Regions from separate parts of the Homo sapiens genome. Here regions 2, 3 and 4 are each linked to region 1. Evidence: promoter capture Hi-C in human tissues and cell types (Jung and others, 2019). All regions are on one chromosome and are shown on one strand. Each heading gives the region's core, a stretch centred on a gene start or on the middle of the fragment in contact. The rest is flanking DNA. Distances are from core to core; before and after follow the strand shown. Region 1 holds the start of PLCB1 (phospholipase C beta 1). Region 2 overlaps PLCB1 (phospholipase C beta 1). Region 3 overlaps PLCB1 (phospholipase C beta 1). Region 4 overlaps PLCB1 (phospholipase C beta 1).

Region 1 (3,073 bases), core at 276-2,775:
TATTAGTCATTTGGACTTAAATTTGCTTAGAGCCTGGCAACTCGGGTTTATTTCAGTAGGTTTTTCTTATCGAACCTTTAGAATGACACCCAGGACATAAAACTGATACCATAATGTTCTCCATCCGAAGATTCGCATGTTTTCAGCTGGATAACTAATTTACGTGTTTTGAAGACAACTGGGGTAGAGGGGAAGGGGAAGTCATTTGAAGTCCTGGGGTCTGGGCCGCTCGTAAAGCATTAGAGACCCCGGCGCTGGGCTAGGCTCTGCCCTACCTGGCAAACGGTGCAGGTAAATCGTGGGGCAAACTCTCAACCTGTCTATTTCAGGCAGAAGACTCCAATCAGCTCAGTTCTCAAAAGTCAGCCCTCCCCACTTGCCTGCAGGCCCATGAGCCCTCCAGGACCCCTCAAGGGCCCCCATTCTGTTCACGCCCTCCCCAGATGTGTCCCCGCAGCCCTTTTCAGGGACCCTCACTCCGGAGCCAGGCGCTGAAGTTTGGCATCAACGACCACCTGTTGGCTGGACCGTTGTGTCCTCCGCCGCCTTGGCTCCCACAAAAGCGCCAAGAGGGTTCGCAATCACTAAAGTGTTTTGAACTTCAGGTCCTTCCTTCTTGAAATCGGGCAAAAGAGGTAATAGGGGGTGCGTCCGCAGGCGGAGAGGGACGCGATTTGTTCACACCAGGCGCTTTCCAGTTGGTCCCAACTTCACACTCCCTACTTTCCGAACTCTCAGGACCTGTCACCAGGCAAAGCTTGCCCCTCCCTCTCCACTGGCCCAAAAGATGTAAGACCCTCAGGGGGCGCCTGCCAGACCCAGAAAGGATGGCAACTACTGAAGCCCGATGAAACAGGAGCGCGCGCAAAGCTTCTGCCCTTGGACATCCGCTTTGGCAGATGCCAACCTGTGCGCCCGAGGCTGCCCCTGCCCGCTCCCAGTGCGCCCATTGCATAACGCGCCCCTTGCCCCACCCCCACGACGCCCGCCCTGCCCGGTGCCCGAGCCAGCGCCCCGACTCGGGCCGCCCCAATACTTACATCATCCCACTTGACGAATTTGGTGCCCTTCTTGAGGCTGTCGGACACGCACACGGGCTTGAGTTGCAAGGCGTGCACTCCGGGTTGAGCCCCGGCCATCTGGGCTCATCTGGGCTCCGGGCGGCCCGGGCGAGCGCGGCAGGGACTGGGGACCGTGCGCGGGGCGCGGGGCGCGGGGCGCGGGCTCCTTTCTCTGCTCCGGAGGCGCTCGACTCTGCTCCCCGCCGGCCTCCCCGGCCTCCCGGCCTCCGCACCTCCCTCCGGCGCCGCTCAGCAGGCAGAGCGCGCGGGGGCGCAGCGCCCGGCCATGCCCCGGGCGGGACGCGAGGTCTGGAGCCCGCGGTGGATGAGGAGCCTCGGAAGGCGAAGAGAAGCCGAGCCGGTCAGCCGAGGCTGCCAGTCGCGGCGGATTCTGCTCCTCCGCCGCCGCCGCCTCAAAGCGCACCATTCAGCACATCCTCTATACACAGAGGGAGAGAGCGAGTGACACACGCCCGGCGCCCCCCCTAACCGCTCTTTTCCCTCCTCCCTCCTCCTCCCCCCCGCCCCCCTTCCCCGCCACCCTCGCTCGCTGGGTCCTTCCTTCCCCCCGCGGCTCCCAGCCCAACTTTGCACGCTGGGTCAGGCGCCAGGAAGCGGGGACGCAGCGGCACCTCCTGGCTCCCGAGCCCCATTGCAGCCAACGCCTGCCTCCCGCATTCGCTCTGAGCATGCCCCGTGCCCTGGTTGCAGAGGTGCTAGGGGTCCCCAGGAGCCTTACGCTCTTTGGGGTTTTCTTGGGAATTTGGGCTCGAGCTCCGGAGCGTCTTTGGATCCCAACTGGCTGGGAAAAGGGGCCCATCGGGAGGAACCAAAGAGGCAACCCCTGGCTTTTGGCTCTAGCTGGAGCTCTCCAGCGCCAGCCACAAACCAGCTTTTTGAAGAGAATTATCATTTATCAGCAGAGAAGAGCGCAGTTGAGAGGCTCTTTGAGGAAACCTGGCCGCGCCTGAGAGTTTGCAGCGCGCTGATCTTGAAACCCGGGCAAACGGTTACGTTGTGCTTTCGAGACAGAAAGCCCATCCTAAAGAAAGCAAAGGTTTTATTTTCCGAGGAAGAAAGAGGGTGCCCTCTCCCGCTCCTCTCCTTGAGTGTGTAGGATGTGTGGCGGGTGGGGGAGAGTCTTATTAATAGAAACTTGCTCATTTAGGAACATAGGTCCAGGAATGTTTGTCTTCACTCCTTCCACAAACATTTCTCAATTCAAGAAAGAAAGGGAGGGAGGGAGGGAAGAAGGGAAAGAGGAGGACCAGAATGGATAAAATTTTAAAGACTGGTAATACCAAATGCTTGAAAGGATGTGGAGCAACTGGAACTCTTTTTTTTTTTTTATTAAGGAGAGAGAGGAGAGGGAGAGAGAGAGTGAGTGAGTGTGAGAGAGAGAAAGAGAGAGAGAGAGAGACACACGCGGGAGGTGGGGGGGCGGAGAGAGAAATAGCTTGGAACTCTTGTTCATTGCTGGAGGGAATATAAAATAGTAAAACCACTTTGGAGAATAGTTTCTTATAAAGTAAGATATTTACTTATCATACAACCTAGAAATTCCACTCCTAAGTATTTGTCCAAAAGAAATGAAAACGTTCAAGTCTGCAGGGACTTGTAAAGTGATGTGAAGAACTTTCTTCTTAGTAGCCTGCAAATGTCAATCAACAGGTGAATGGATAAACAAACTGTGGTATGCCCAAATATTGGAATACTATTCCACAATAAAAATGAGTGGGCATGCAAGATCAGGGATGAATCGCGACTTTAAGCTTTGTAAAAGAAGCCGGACACGATAGACTGTATGCTGCCTGATTCCATGTGTAGGAATTGCAGAATAGGCAAGATATTCTATGTTGACAGAAAGCTTGCCTGTGGCCAGGGATAGGTAGAGATGGACAGGGAAGGGCTACGAGCACCTGATGAGCATGTCGGAAATGTTCTATATCGTGTGTGTGTTTATCAAAACTTGTAAGTTCTGTAAGTACGCCTAAATTGAGTGCAGTTTGTTT
Region 2 (2,919 bases), core at 64-2,563, 530 kb before region 1:
TGTCACAGCTGGCATCCTAGAGACTGTAGTGATTCAGAGTTAAGACAGACCTTCCAGAATCTCCATAAGAGATTTTTGAAATCCTTGGTCACTGTCCACTTCCTGGCAGGATTCCCTACTATGGTACATTTTTCAGCTTTTCTATTAAGGGTTAGGGTGGAAGGTCCATCCCTCACTTAATCTGGTTTCCCTGTGGTTTGCTTTTTTTTTTTCTGCATTCGACCTATTTCCCTCCCACTTATCTGTTGTATCACATTGACTATTGACAAGACCCTGGATAATGCCGAAGTTAGGAGCCAAACGCCTGTGGCCTCTCTCCCTCCCAACACAGTACAACCTGCCAGGCAGTTTTGACTGAGCCAGAGTCCCCTCCACCCCACCCCACACGCACTGCAACCTGCTCCTAGACCCTGCTGACAAGGGGAAAGCTATACTAGCCAACAATTGTCAATGCTGTGTTCTGCTGGGAGGTCACATCTAGGGGGAAAGAAGCCATTCTCTGCTCTGTCCCAATAGCTCTCCCATGAAATGGCAAGGCACCTCTGAAAGGTGTGATGAAGGAAAGAAGTTTTAACAAGACTCAGCAGACTATGGGGTTGATGAGGCTACCAAGCTCACTTATCTATCCTGTGGACTGGCATTTGATTTTGCCTTTTACTGTTTATATTTTTCCTGTCTGGTTATTTTCTGAACAAAGGACATTTCAGCTGTGAGTAGACAGGGCTGTGACTTTCTGGCCAGAGCTGTGGGCCTGAGCAGACACTGAGGTCACTGAAATAAAGGAGAAAAGAAACAGAATTCCTAGGCCAGGCCTTTGCCTTTCCTCAGGCCCAGGCCCTGCCTTCTGGGAATAAAGGAAATGTAATAACGGAAAGGAAAGCAAAGGGAGTTGCCAAGTCAACCAATGAACAATAGATCCACAATGACGATCTTGAAAAATTTTTTTTTCATTCTTAGGCAATCTGAAATATTTCAGAGAAGTCTATGAACATACCAAACATGAAGTTAAGAAGAACTTGGAATGCACTCAGGGACGACAATGCCATTTTTCTGTAACCTTCCGCAGAGGTTAGAGAGTCAATAGGAGGAATTTAAATGAGATTTCGATCAATAAAATCCTAGAGTAGCTTTTCAGCAGCTTTTTCAGTGTAGTAACTTAATTAAGGCATGAAAGCATTGGCTACATCATATAGTTTTCCTCTGTTTTTGTCTTTTGGGAGAAAATTGATCTTATTTGTGTTGACTTTGTTGATTCACGTCGGTTCTGTTTCCTCAACTACTTTGTAGGTAATCTATATAAAATGACTTAAATGGATGCCACCTTAATTGTGAGGCAGATCTTTAAACTAGTCAGTATTTCCTTCAGAGGAGTGGTTTTTAAACTGAGTATCCTGAATATCCCTGGGTTTGGGCAGACATCCCTGCAGAGAATGGGGTAGGTCAGGAGGAGAAAGAGTGATAGGGCAACAGCCACCATCACCTGTACTCCAGGCTCCCCTCTATTCCACCAAGACAGCACCTTTAAAGCTTTTCCCTACACATTGGCCTTTCTCACGAGACTTTGTTAGAAGAAACAAACAAAGGGTGCTATGTCTAGGACCAGCTTGGAAACCACTGCTATAGACATCGATCACTAACTTCTAAATGGTCTGTGTTGCAACTTTTTTCTAAGCAAGTCCTGTTGGAGTGCCTAGGTGGATGTCTGGAGTAGCGGGACAAAGAAAACATGGTCTTGGTCCCAACATTGCCATTTCTGCAAACTGCCTCTTCTAATAAACTGACAGTTTGACTAAGCTAAATGGCTAAGTCCTTTGTAGACTGGAAATCTATGATTGGAGGCCACTGGCCAGGGCTTCGTGATTGGAAACAACGAAGACAATAACGTGATAGGTTGGCAGGAATGATGAGGCACAGCCTCTTTCCATTTTTTTTTCTCTCAATGCTCAGCAACTCTGACCTTACCCATCTTTCACTTTTGATTCCCTTAAGGCCATTTATAGAAAAGTGCTTGTCTTAGTTTGGGTTCTTCCAAAAACAGGATCTGAGACAAGGATTTGAGTGCAAGCACCTTTTTTGGGAGTTGACCCTATGAAACAACAGTAGAGAAGAGAAGTGAGACAAGAAGGAAAGGCAGCTAAGAAGGAGAAGGGTATCAGGCAGGTTACAGCTGTGGGCAGTTAGGGCTCAGTCTCACCGAGGAACTCTGGGAGAAAGCAGAGAACACACATCAGAACTTTGCAACCCAAGGGGCATGGAAGATAAGGTATTTATTCTTCAACTACTCCTGAGGCATGCAGTCCCTGGGAATTGTAGCCTGGCTGTGGATGGACTGATAGAAGGCCCTGAAGAGTTGCCAAGTGTGTAGGTGGCTGGGTTGGAACCATGATTGCCAAGGGACATGGGAATAGCACAGGTGTCTGCTACATTGCTGGTCTCATCCCATTTTACAGATGAAGAACCTGAAGCTCACACAAGTCAAGTCTCTTGCCTGAGGTTTACTGGCTTCATCATGACACTATGCCAGCCTATTTCTTTAATTAGGGCATGTTTGATCTTTCAAGGATGGAGAATAGAGATTATAATCATCACCATCATTAGTTTTTATAACTTCTACCTAGTAAAGCGAAATGGTGCTGGAAAAATATGATTCAAAAAATTTACTAGGAAATTGAAGTGATAATGAAGTAAATAGTAAGAGTCAAGTGTACATCCTTACACTTATGACTATAATTATAATTCCATTTTAATAAAAAGGTATAGAAAAGAATGATTGAGTCAGAAAGGACCATTTGTGCACAGATGTGACATGCCATATTTTTTTCAAGTTTCATTAATAAATTATTATACTTATCCTTAATTGCAGTACATTAAATAAGGCTGTTAGATGAGAAACAGCAATGTTCAGGAATGCCTCAGCCC
Region 3 (3,023 bases), core at 17-2,516, 550 kb before region 1:
CAAGAATAATAATAATAATAATAATTTAAATTGGTAGGTAGAAGTAGAAATATTTATGTGAACTCGTGCCTTAAAAAGACAAAAAAAAATTATCTTTTCTTCCTTTGTTCACTGAAACAGTCCAGGCAATGTTCAGGGTCCAAATTGCTGTTACTCATACTTTTTCTTTCCCATCAAAAAGAACCAGGGCTCACTGGAGAATAGTCTGTTTCCATCTCTGGAGCAGAAAGGAATAAGGTGAGTCTGGAAGATCTCTATGTGCCAGAACACTTTCAAAGATTAATAGGTCATGTCAAGAGGACACAGATGATAGCCTAAAAATGTCTCCTACTAACCAAAGTTGAGACAATTTGGTCTCTCAAAAGGAGAATGGCAGCCGCGATTGAATGAACATACATAAAATCTGAAAACCCTAGTGATAGTCAGAAAGGGAAAAATTAATATACTCTGAAAGAAGGTGAAAAAATAAAATGTATATCCAATCAGTCTTGTCATTCAATCATTTTGGTATTACTGACTCATTTATTATATGACAAATAAAATAGAATGTAATGAATATAAATATATCAGTTGGAAGGTATTTTGGACTCAAAAGATTATTCGTAAAAAATCTACTCTATATTGTGACTTCCACTTAAACAAAATCACACACAATACCCAAAATTCAACCGGACATATATTTAAGTATTTTTGAGTTTTGTGGTCCTAAATATAGGATAAATGTAAGATTCTATAATGTGCTCAGATTTTAAAAATTATACTTCTTTGAATTTTATCATGTCAAAGATCTAGACTGTTAAAGTGATATTCCATGAACCTCCTTGAACTTGGATGAGAAAGAATGGTTACAGTTTTAATTTTAACCTCTACACAAAATTTAACATTCTCTTCAGTTAAGTATGTAGTTTACAAGTCACTAGCAAGATCTGTGTATTATATTCCAATTGTTGCAAATTATCACAACATTTTACTTATACTTATTTAAATTGTGTTAATACTGAGATACACAAGGTTATATATCATAACATTTTATAAAAATATTTCAATGAAATTTATTTCCTCTTTAATTCTAGGTACTTAATTTATGCATTTAGCATTCTGAGAAGGGTGCATACACTTCACCAGACTGCCAAATAGGTCAAGGCTTAATTTAAGATCAGATTAGAAACACATTGATGTTTTATCCTACTTTATTATAATATTTACAATAAAGTATAAGTTGTCATTCACAGGTCAATTTGTTTTTGTCTAAAGCCCTGTCCTACCTTGAACAAAAAGCAATTACTTAATTCTTTTTTTTTTCTTTTGAGACAAAGTTTCATTCTTGTCACCCAGGTTGGGGTGCAGTGGTGTGATCTCGGCTCACTGTAACCTCCACCTCTTGGGTTCAGGTGATTCTCCTGCCTCAGCCTCCCAAGTAGCTGGGTTTACAGGCACGCACCACCACGCCTGGCTGATTTTTTTTTTTTTTTTTGTATTTTTAGTAGAGACAGGGGTTTCGCCATATTGAACAGGCTGGTCTCGAACTCCTGACCTCAGGTGATCCGCCCGCCTCGCCGTCCCAAAGTGCTGGGATTACAAGCATGAGCCACCACTTAAGAACTTCGGAGCTGTCATGTAGATGAACACAGCCCAGAGAACCGGGTAGGACTGGACATGGCTTCAAGTACACTGAAGAATGAGTTCAGTTACACAAAAATCCCATTGATCTGAAAATGTCAGCCGTGGTTGCATTTTAGAAGACTTAAAAACTTAGGCTGTGGAGAAATGATGCTATTGCTTCATACACATGTGGACATGACTGCTTATGGGAGGCGGGAGGCTTTAGTGGTGGAACCCCAGAGTTCTCAGAGGCACTTCGCAGGAAATGGAAGAAAACACACTTCAGCTTCCGAACAACAGAAAGTAGAGGTTGGTGAAATTTGGTGAGACTGGCTAAAGTAACAAAGAACTAGAAAATTCATACCTGTGAGGTAGGTGTTGTGCGAGGAATTAATGAAATAGTGAGAAAGGGGCTGAGACATGTCTTCATTCAAATCCAGTTTCTCAGGTGAAACGACTCCGTTTTCTTCTCCACTCAGATAGCGCATGAACCCATCCACTGATATTTGTCCTGGAGGAAATGAAGTTAGAAAGGATGTGAATGCATTCTTTTATGGGTGTCAAGTCGCCTCTTTTTTTTTTTTTTTCCAGAAATATCTTGTAGTGTCCAAGGTAGAAGACATTTTAGTATGGATAAATAAGAGTGTAGGATTATTCTGTTTCACTACAATTATTTCCAAATGTCACAGACAATAGAGAAAACATGTAGTTACATGAGCCCCACCAAATTTTCAGAGGATTTAAATAAACACCAACCTCCTGTTTTCCAATGTAAGACTGGTATTAACTTTATGGATCGGCACTAAAATGTTATCAGTGCTTATCTCTGTGTAATAGAATTTGGGGTAATTTTTCAATTTTTTTTCTTATTAATGTATGTTACTTTATAATCAAAATTATGTACAAGTGGCCTGTAATCCCAGCACTTTGGGAGGCTGAGGCGTGTGGATCACTTGAGGTCAGGAGCTCGAGACCAGCCTGGCCAATATGGCGAAGTCTCCTCTCTACCCAAAACACAAAAATTAACCCGGGCATGGTGGGCGCCTGTAATCCAGCTACTCAGGAGGCTGAGGCAGGAGAATCGCTTGCACCCAGGAGGTGGAGGTTGCATTGAGCCGAGATGGCGCCACTGCACTCCAGCCTGGGCGACAGAGCGAGACTCCTTCTCAAAATAAAAATAAATAAATAAATAAATAAATAAATAAATAAATAATTTACAAGTGGTTTTATTATTTAAAATAATGTTAAAGTGTTTTTGGGGCTGGGCGCGGTGGCTCACGCCTGTAATCCCAGCACTTTGGGAGGCCAAGGTGGGCAGATCACAAGGTCAGGAGATCGAGACCATCCTGGCTAACACGGTGAAACCTCGTCTCTACTAAAAATACAGAAAAATTAGCCGGGTGTGGTGGCGGGTGCCTGCA
Region 4 (2,700 bases), core at 94-2,593, 520 kb before region 1:
AGATAAAAATAATGAAAGGAGAGCTCTGCACGAGAAAAAAATTTTATGCAATGGACTTCCAGAAACAATAGTAACAAATCATTTTAGAGCCAGTCATGTAGAAATGAATCAAAATGAAAGCAAATTATTTTATTTGAGGTGGTTAATGTATATGATGTACCTTGTGTGTGTCAGGCATAAAAATGAAAGCATGTTACATGCTTGTCCTCTCACCTACTTTACCACCGTATGAGCAAAGTAGGTGTTTAGATCCAAACTGTTTAGATCCTGCACCCCCTCAGTAAAAACTTTCTGAGCACAGCTCTGTAAAGTATGTAAATATATTTATTTATAAGCACATAGCAGCATACTAATTGCTTACATAGCTTATACATCTTAAAACTAAACATTTTAAAATGCTAAGGTGAGATGAAATTAATATTTCAAATATCTTCCTAAACATAACGGCTTCACACTGATCCAGGGCTGGAAAGCCCCAAAGTAGGGCTTAGCCTGCGAGGGTTCTTGGCTTCACTCAGGAAAGAATTCAAGGACGAGCCAGTGGTAGGGTAGAAGAAAATAACTTTACTGAGGCAGCAGTGTTACAGCTCCATGCCTGTTCCCGCAGAGCAGGGCTACTCCATAGGCAGTGTGCTCAGAGTAGCAGCTCAGGCAGTTTTGAGGTTGTATTTATACTTACTTTTAATCACATGTAGATTAAGGGGTGGTTAATACAGAAATTTCTATGATAGGAGTGGCAATTTTTGGGTCATTGGATCATTACCGTGGAAAGCGGTGGTAATTCCTCGGTGTTGCCCTGGCAATGGTAAACTGACATGGACATATCTTATGGAAAGCTGCTTCCGCTCCCCCTGTTTTAGCTGGTCCTTAATTTGGTCCGGTGTTCATACCCCACCACCAGAGTTGAGTCTCGCCTCCTAACTCAACACTATCATTAGCTAATATCTTAAAAAAAACATCAAGAAGGGTTTATTGTTAATAAGTTTGAAACCACATTTCAAATTGTCATCTTGATAATGTTAGCCTTTTTTGACTATTTTAAAAATATTACCTGATTAGGTGACTTTTTTATCTACAAAAAGCAAGGGTCATTCTAGATTGAAATACTGGGGTTATAGGAGTGAAAAGAGGCCTCACCAAGTCTTGGCTGTTTCTAGCTAGCTCTATAAACTTTTTTCAGCCTCTGTTCATTACCCAGTTCCAAAGCTGCTTCTACATTTTCAGATATTTGTTATCAGCAAAAACCCCACCTCTTGGTACCAATTTTCAGTCTTACTCTGTTTTCTGATGCATATAGCAGAATACTTGAAACTGTATAATATATAGGAATCAAAATGTATTTCCTACAGTTACAAAGGCTGGGAAGTCCAAGGTGGAGAGGGCACATCTGGCAAAAGTCTTCTTGCTAGTGGGGACTCTCCACTTTGGCAGAGGTGGCACAGGGAATCAGATGGTGAGGGGGAAGAACATGCTAGCTCAGGTCTGTTTTTCTCTTCTTATAAAGCCACCAGTTCCTCTCCGATGATAATCCATTAATTCATTAACCCATTAATCATGGAAGCTCTTAATTTCCTCTTAAAGGCCCTACCTCTCAAAACTGTCATATTGGGGATTAAGTTTCAACATGAGTTTTGGAGGGGCTGAACATTCAAACTATAGCATAACACACATGCTCACCCTTGAAGATGGAAGACTACAAGCCTCTAAAGCAGTTTCAACTCGCTTCCGATCTGCTGAAAACAAGCGATATATGCTGTGAAGTGAACACAACAAAGGAGAGAGGTTTAAATGGCACATGGATCACAGCACTAACAGATGATGCCAACTCAAAATATTCCATTCAGTCAAATCTATTTATTATTCATATTTAAAGAACTAAAAGATAACCATTCCTCCATGCATTTGCATCTGTCTTCTGAAAGATCAACTGCGTGCTTTTAAAATTAAGGTGTCTAGTATAAAATCAGTATTTTAGGATTATGGTGCTGACCCAATTAAAAAATATTGCATTAAATAATCTCTAATATTAAGCACTAAAATAAACATCCTTATTAATTCTGTCCCCTTGCTGCTACTACCCATTGCCCCAAGGTGTACATTGCATTATTAATAAATTTAATTTTTAATTTGTTTACTTTTAAATTAATTTCTTTTCTTTTCTTTCTTTCTTTCTTTTTTTTTTTTTAGAGACAGGGTCTCACATTGTTGCCCAGGCTGGAGTGCAGTGGCATGATCCCAGCTTACTGCAGTCTCCACTTCCCATGCTCAAGTGATCCTCCCACCTCAGCCTCCCTAGTAGTTAGAACTACAGGCATGTGCCACCACACCTGGCTAATTTTTAAAAATTTTTGCAAAGATAGAGTCTCACTATGTTGCCTAGGCTGCTCTCAAAATCCTGGCCTTAAGCAATCCTTCTGCCTTGGCCTTTCAAAGTGCTGGGATTACAGGCATGAGCCACTGTGCTTGGCTTAATTTGTGTATTCGCAGAAGCTTTCTAGTAGCTTGTAAGTCAAAAGTTAAAGACTTTTGGCTGGATATGACCTAGAGATGGACTTTTTTTCGTTACTAATTTGATTTAAAAATAGAACTTAAGTACTGGACAATTTAATATACTAATTTAGGTTTATGGGTTCTATAAAGACATTAGACAATCTAGTGTCAGGTGCTCACCAGTCCCACAGGATATATGGTGGAGATGAG

Evidence for each region. The method cuts DNA at HindIII sites, captures the fragments that hold promoters and counts their contacts. A contact is called where the count stands out against the background at its distance.
Region 2: a fragment that was not itself captured here is called in contact with the fragment with the promoter of PLCB1 in region 1 in 11 of the 25 tissues and cell types used here (H1 embryonic stem cells, IMR-90 fibroblasts, aorta and 8 more).
Region 3: a contact is called between a fragment that was not itself captured here and the fragment with the promoter of PLCB1 in region 1, in 4 of the 25 tissues and cell types used here (IMR-90 fibroblasts, aorta, lymphoblastoid cells and 1 more).
Region 4: a fragment that was not itself captured here is called in contact with the fragment with the promoter of PLCB1 in region 1 in 3 of the 25 tissues and cell types used here (H1 embryonic stem cells, dorsolateral prefrontal cortex and heart right ventricle).

Annotation. Positions count from the first base shown.
Region 1 is chr20:8,130,718-8,133,790 of GRCh38, reverse strand. PLCB1 (phospholipase C beta 1) reads right to left here and starts at 1,525. Exons shown (of 32, transcript NM_015192.4): 1 at 1,041-1,525. The coding sequence starts at 1,139. RefSeq lists a silencer at 1,300-1,439. The HindIII fragment of the contact is 4,653 bases long and covers 1-3,073 here.
Region 2 is chr20:8,665,436-8,668,354 of GRCh38, reverse strand. All of the region lies in intron 9 of PLCB1 (phospholipase C beta 1), which reads right to left. Among named protein-coding and RNA genes, the nearest start is that of RNU105B, 160 kb to the left of the region's middle. The HindIII fragment of the contact is 3,580 bases long and covers 1-2,919 here.
Region 3 is chr20:8,684,022-8,687,044 of GRCh38, reverse strand. PLCB1 (phospholipase C beta 1) reads right to left here. Exons shown (of 32, transcript NM_015192.4): 10 at 1,967-2,113. Among named protein-coding and RNA genes, the nearest start is that of RNU105B, 150 kb to the left of the region's middle. The HindIII fragment of the contact is 7,549 bases long and covers 1-3,023 here.
Region 4 is chr20:8,648,427-8,651,126 of GRCh38, reverse strand. PLCB1 (phospholipase C beta 1) reads right to left here. Exons shown (of 32, transcript NM_015192.4): 7 at 1,678-1,753. The region is part of intron 1 of LOC105372521 (a long non-coding RNA gene); the gene reads left to right. Among named protein-coding and RNA genes, the nearest start is that of RNU105B, 180 kb to the left of the region's middle. The HindIII fragment of the contact is 8,659 bases long and covers 1-2,700 here.